Regions from separate parts of the Homo sapiens genome. Here region 1 is linked to region 2. Evidence: promoter capture Hi-C in 16 types of primary human blood cells and fetal thymus (Javierre and others, 2016). All regions are on one chromosome and are shown on one strand. The core of a region is centred on a gene start or on the middle of the fragment in contact, and the rest is flanking DNA. Distances in the headings are between cores, read along the strand shown.

The links. Contacts are between HindIII fragments. The CHiCAGO score rates a contact against its expected background, and 5 or more counts as called.
Region 1: a fragment that was not itself captured here is called in contact with the fragment with the promoter of OXR1 in region 2 in 1 of 17 cell types (naive CD4 T cells); the score reaches 7.1 in naive CD4 T cells.

Annotation. Positions count from the first base shown.
Region 1 is chr8:108,444,189-108,447,278 of GRCh38, forward strand. The region is part of intron 1 of EMC2 (ER membrane protein complex subunit 2); the gene reads left to right. Among named protein-coding and RNA genes, the nearest start is that of EMC2, 2.1 kb to the left of the region's middle. The HindIII fragment of the contact is 3,715 bases long and covers 1-3,090 here.
Region 2 is chr8:106,268,673-106,271,686 of GRCh38, forward strand. It overlaps OXR1 (oxidation resistance 1), which reads left to right and starts at 1,518. Exons shown (of 17, transcript NM_001198533.2): 1 at 1,518-1,695. RefSeq lists silencers at 1,243-1,492, 1,513-1,872. The HindIII fragment of the contact is 2,469 bases long and covers 1,065-3,014 here.

The DNA.
Region 1 (3,090 bases), core at 471-2,970, 2.2 Mb after region 2:
TTTTCTTCTTAAACCCGGGTTTCCAGTTTCTTTTCCTTTTAGTCTAGTCTCTGTCCCACTCCTTCTCAAAACACATTTACACACACAACACAACTTCTTTCTTACTCCCTACTAGTAGTTTCTTTTCTGAAGGGAAAAATAACTAATTAACTCTGGGCTACGTAAGTGCTTACGTGTGATGGTCACTTTTCCCTATCCTTAGTTGATCTAGAGTGGGATATGTTCTTTAAATCTGGGAACAGCCAAACCTTGGATCAATTCTGTGTGCTTAAGAAACTTGAGTTTCATTAAGGCGTGGAATTTGTGTAATTGGAATTCATATTCCCAGCATTTAACATAATACAGGAGACTTCAGTAGCTAATTTGCTTAACGAATGCCTTCTTGGGATGTTTTAATAATGACCTGAAAACATGTGGACCGAAAGTTGTATTTTCTGTTTTATCGTGAATAAATATATCAGTTATTATAAAGTTGTAAATCCGTTACAAATAAAGCAAAATTTCTTTGTACTTGAACTGAATTAAATGATTTATTGACTTTATGGCCTCTAGCACGTTGTGAATCTCAGTATTTATACCTGAATTGAGGGATTCCATTATATTAAACAACAGTGTTGATTTCTTACTGCAAAATCTTGGCTCTGTCAACACACAGTCCCCACTTCCAAGGAAGTCACAATCTAATGGAGAAAACAAACCTGTAAACACACAGTTTTAAAAGGCTTGTGTCAGGGTATCTTCCGTAAGCTGAGTCGTAGATAAATGGATGTTATTTTTAATGCTTTTTAAAAAATGTTTTAAATATTACATAATTTTTAGAAAATGCTATTATGAAGGTATGTTCATTATAGGTTTCCTAGATGATAGTAGCATATATAAAATCCTGAGGGACGAGTAGCTGTATACTACCAACAGACAAGGTGATTTAACTGAGTAATTGGACCTTACCCTGTGGTCATTCTAAAGAGGATTGATGTAATTAATTTGGAATAATAAATAATAACTACTACACAAATTTGTAGGAACAAAGAAAACATTTTAAAGTGCTTTGTAAACTGTTAAGTACTATATAAAAGGATGTGTTACTATTAGCTAGTGCTAATATGATTATGTCCTTCCTCTGTATGATCTGGCGGTTGCCCATGTCTCCAGCTTTATCTTGAGCCCTTCTCCCTCTCACTTTGTGAGCTGCCTATGCTGGCCTTTGTTGAATACCCTAAATTGCCATGCTGCTTCTTAAAGCTGGCACATGCTAGTCCTTCCACTGGGAGTGTTCTTCCCTCCTTGCCTCACTCTTGCCCCCATTAAACTTTATCATTTATCAATTCCCCACAAAGCTCACCTACTACAAAAAAGCCTTACTTGACCACTCTACTACCCCCTTCCCTTTCCTCATCCCCCACCAAAATTGAAAAAAAAAACCCAAACAATAAAATGAAGCAACAAAACACACCTGCAATCCTTCGATTATGTATTCTATTCTAATACTATTGAAGCACTTACCCAATTGTGTTTTGTTTTAAAATTTTGTCTCTCCTAAGATGAAAGGGACCAGGCCTGTTTCTTCACTGTCACTTCCCTAGAGCCTGACACATGGGGGCGGAGCTCAGTAATTATTTGATGACTAAATGAATTGTTAATGAGATTAATAATAAACACTAACACATTGTCAGAAAAGATTATAAGCCATTTTTCTAGCGTTGAAATAATTTCTTTAGTATCTTAGATACAGGTTTTAGTATCATTCTTCTCTTAGCTTGAAAATGACCTTTTTAGAGAAGCCTTCTCTGACCACCCTTTCCAAAAGCTCCTCCTTTCTCCCAATCTCCTGACTTTATCATATGGTCTTTTAGTTTTATTTGTATAATTTCACTATCTGAAGTTATGTGGATTTTCATCTTTTTACCCTATTATACTCTAAGCATTATGAGTATATAGGAACTTTATCTTTTTCTTTCTTTCTTTATCCTCAGTGCCCAGATCAGGCCTGGCACATAGGCATTTAGGAAATATTAGTTGAGTGATGAAGAACTCCAATATTTACTCCAAGAAGTAAATATTAGTGGAATAATGAAGTATAGTTCCAGTCATACACTATACTGCCTCAAAGAAGGTAGGAATCATTGGGTATCTTAAGAATTTACATTGTAATGAAGTAAATCTTTAGAAATATCTGGTAGTAATTTACAGATTGAATTTGGGTTGAGAGATCAGTTTGGAAGCTATCCTAGCAATTTTAGCATGGGGTGATGAAAGCCTGGGCATGGATAATAGCAGTGGAAATAGAGTAGAAGATGTAAATCTTCGAAATACTTCGAAATACTTCAAAACAATCCACAGGACTTAGATATACAAAACTCCCACAGTGGGAGTCAGAAACAGCACTAAAAAATGGAATGTCAGGTAGTATTAACAGAAGGTGGAATTAACAGAAATGTGAACATTGGGAAGGGAGGCCATATTTTTAGGAAATGAAGATGACTTGATTTTCGGATGCTGTGATTTTGAGGTAATGAGCTATCAAAGGTGAAAACATGTTTTCTTCAAGATGGTTTTATTTTTACAAATAATTTTTTTAGATAAATGTATTTAAGGCATTTCTAAAAGTAGTATGTGGTTAATAGTGCTACAAATGTATTTATTACAGCAGCACTCAAGAGTGTGGCAGGGTCAGCTATGTAAGGTGTATAGCTTAAGGTGTTTATAGGTAAAATGTTGCTTGTTTTGTAAGTTATATTTTCATACACAGTGTTTCTTGTTTTGTGTTCAGCTATTATATTTTAATATGTGACTGTGTGTCAGACTGCCGTTCTTAGAAGTTATGCTTTAAAAAAAGTTCTCTTTCCTATGAGTGTTTTTTCACAATAAGAAACACCTTTTACAAATTAACTCATACTCAATTAAGTATACCTATACATGAATCTTTGAGTGTATGTATAAACTGAAACCAAAGTTGCATTTACAAAGGATTCTAATGAGTATTGCTTCCATTCTGTTCATTTTGTTTCATTCTCCCCCACTGCCCCCCCACCCCCAACAGATGCTGGAAGAAATCCACTGAACCGATTTTATACCCTATTAATGGATTGT
Region 2 (3,014 bases), core at 268-2,767:
CATTGCTTGTAGAAGATTCTCAGTAAAATCTTTCTGATAGAATAAAAATTAAACGCTATCAGTTTCAACATAACAGAAAATTTAAGCTGCGAATGCTCGTAAAGAAATTAGGTAAAAATAATGGAGAACAAAACCCGCAATCGGCTTATCAATCGGCTTACTGTTGACACGCCACGCCACTCAGAATAGTATCTAATTTTCTTGATCCCTTATCTCAGGTAAAGCTATTGACTCGGGGAAATAGGTTATGCGGAAACCATGAAAGTTTCTAGTCTGGCCGACCCTAGGTTCAACACTCTATTATTCCAGACAAGCGATGAGCTCCTGTCGCTAAATTTCAACATCCCTGTCTGTCAAATGGGAATAATAATGATTCTCTCATTGGGTGGCTGTGAGAGGTGAGTGAAACAAGACGGAAATTTGACCCAGGAAATATCTGTACCTCTTACTTTAAAGAACAGAATTAAAAAATAATAATAAATGATCAGAAATTAAGGTAGAATAGAGTGAACACTAATAGCGGGAAATAGCTAATTTGCAGGTGAGGTGGCTGAAAGGCTCCTACGCTTGAAGTGTTTGCTGGATGCACAGGAGATCTGGGATACATCCCGAACTCGGCAACAGGACCAGCTCCTTTCCTCAGGGTTACAGAACAGCCAGGTTCCAGTTCAGGTCTGGGAATCTACCCATCCAGAGTTTGCGCCCTTTTCGTTTTGCAATTTAAAACCGGGTTGGAGGGGGAAGGAGTGAAGGCAGCATGCGGAGAAAGTAAATTACAGTTCAGGTGACAGGAACAAGAAAATCTCCAAGGTCAGGGTGGGGTGTCAACGAATTATGCAAAACACTGCGGAATGAGGAGTCACAAACGCCTTGCAAAGAATTCTGAATTTTAGAAGCTCTTTGCAGAACCCCCTTCAGCCCGCTCCAAGCTGCCTTGGGTCCCTTTCTAGGCTGTCAGACTTCGCCTTCCTTTCCTCCTTGTTTTTCCCAGCAACCAAAGCATCTGAAGAACATTTTTTTCCTCCGTAAATCTGAACAAATTTCCTTGCAGCTTTCCTTGCAGAAGCTTTTTTATCGCTTTAACAAAACTTTCCTCTGCTTCTCTAGGGAGAGCCTAGTATTAGAGCTGCCCGACAGGCGGGACCCCGAAATCGGGGCAGCTCTGGCTTAGTCCAGGCTATTCGAGTGGGCGCCTGAACTGGAGGCGCCGTCTCCACCGGGATGGGGATCCTAGTGCAGGCAGACGCCTGGCAGGACTCGGCGAGCTGGGGTCCCCACCGCGGTAGCCAGAGCAGAAACCCGAACCCCAGCCAGAGGGGCCGCGCGCGGGGAGGGGTGCGCGCTAAGCCAGCGTGGCTTCCGCAGGAGCTATTTTTAGCGGTGCGTGCCTCCCCCCGCCCCCGGCGTGGTAGCCTCCGGCTCGCGGCGCCCCACGGCTCCTCTCAGTCTCCCCCGCCGCTGCCGGCTCTTGGTAGCTTCCACGCGGGCAGGTCCGGAAACTGAGCATGTCTGCAAGCGCTCAGCGGCGCCGGCAGCAGCGGGGCTAGAGCTGGGCTGCGTCAGGCTGAGCCCATTCACCTCGCGGCCACAGGAGCTCAGCGCCGGCGCCGCGCCGCCCAGCCCCGCCGAGAGGGGCGCACTCGCCGCCGCGGGGCCCGCCGCCGCTCACCGCAGCCCCCTCCTGGCGACCCGCAAGTAAGTTTGTGAGGCTGCTGGGCGTTAGGGCGAGGGCTTGGCGCCCGGGGGAGTCCAGGAGGGATAGCGAGAGGCGCGGCTGGCGCCCGGGAGAGCCGGCTGGCCTCTGCCCCCTGTGCCTGGCGCCTCTCCGAGCCACTTAGCCAATTTGAAAGCGGGTGGCCATTGGGATGCTCGAGCGGGGACGACGGGCAGAGCAGGAGGGCAGAACTAGCTCCAGCGGGGGCCCAGAGGGCGGACTTGGGAAGAAGGAAAGACCGCGCGGCGAGGGAGGAGACCGGGCGGCGAGGGAGGAGACCGGGCGGGGAGGCTGGGTTTGGGGCGCGGGAGCCCGGCCAGGGACAGCCGCAGAAGGAAAGTGGGGGTGTCGCCGGGGGATAGAGTGGGAGCAGCGTGAGAGCAGTGTTGGGGGCGCAGAGTGGAGGGCAAGCGTGTCTTGAACAGAACGGCAGGAGGATGGGTGGAAAGTGGGGCGCGTGGAAAGCGGATTTGGACGAGAGCAAAGGACGCCGGTGGAAGGGACAGTGGGCTCCGGAGGGGCGAGTGGATTCGGATAATTTGGGGAATCAGTAAAAGGCTAGGGGGCACATCATGATGGAGTCAGCCTGGAATCTGTCTCCCGCTAGAGTACCCGAGGCCACATGTTGGGAACTGGCTGGGGAAAGGATGGATGTAGAAAGTGGCCTGGAGGGCCGACTGGAAAATCGCTGAGGGATTTGGGTGAAGAGGGGGGGAGCTGTGCAGTATCGGGCGGAGGAACTGGGCTGCTGGTAGGGCCTGAAAGGTTCAGGAGAGGGTTGGAGGCTTCCCCGTGCCGCCCCTTGAATAGTGATTTAGTACTGTTATCTGAGGTTCACTTTCACCCCTGGCTCCTCCTCCGTCTACTACCCGGCTTGGACGCACCTCGGCTCGCTGTAGGCGAGCTTTAGGAGATTTAAATAGACATTAGGCAGTGGGGAAGGTAGTCGTTTACGGGGGGAGCTGCTCGGGCTTCCGTTCAGTGGTTCCCGGCACGCTCAGGGTGCAGTGTAGGGTCTGAATGTGTGTATTGCGGGGGTAGGGGGAGTGGTGTCAGTTCTAGGCCACAGGAATTCGTGGTCTGGCCCCAGAGGTGCGGTGTTTTTGGCCGGGAAGTCAGGCAGAAGTCTGCAGCGTGCAACTCGCAGCGGGGCGTGTGTGTGCGTGTGTGCGCGCGCGTGTGCATGTTTCCGGCCCGGGGTCGCGTGTGTGGCTGCAGCCTGTCTCCGTGACAAGAAGATCCAGGGATCTACGGGCGGCACGGGGAAGGGATTAAGGGGAACATACTTCCCTACGTCTTT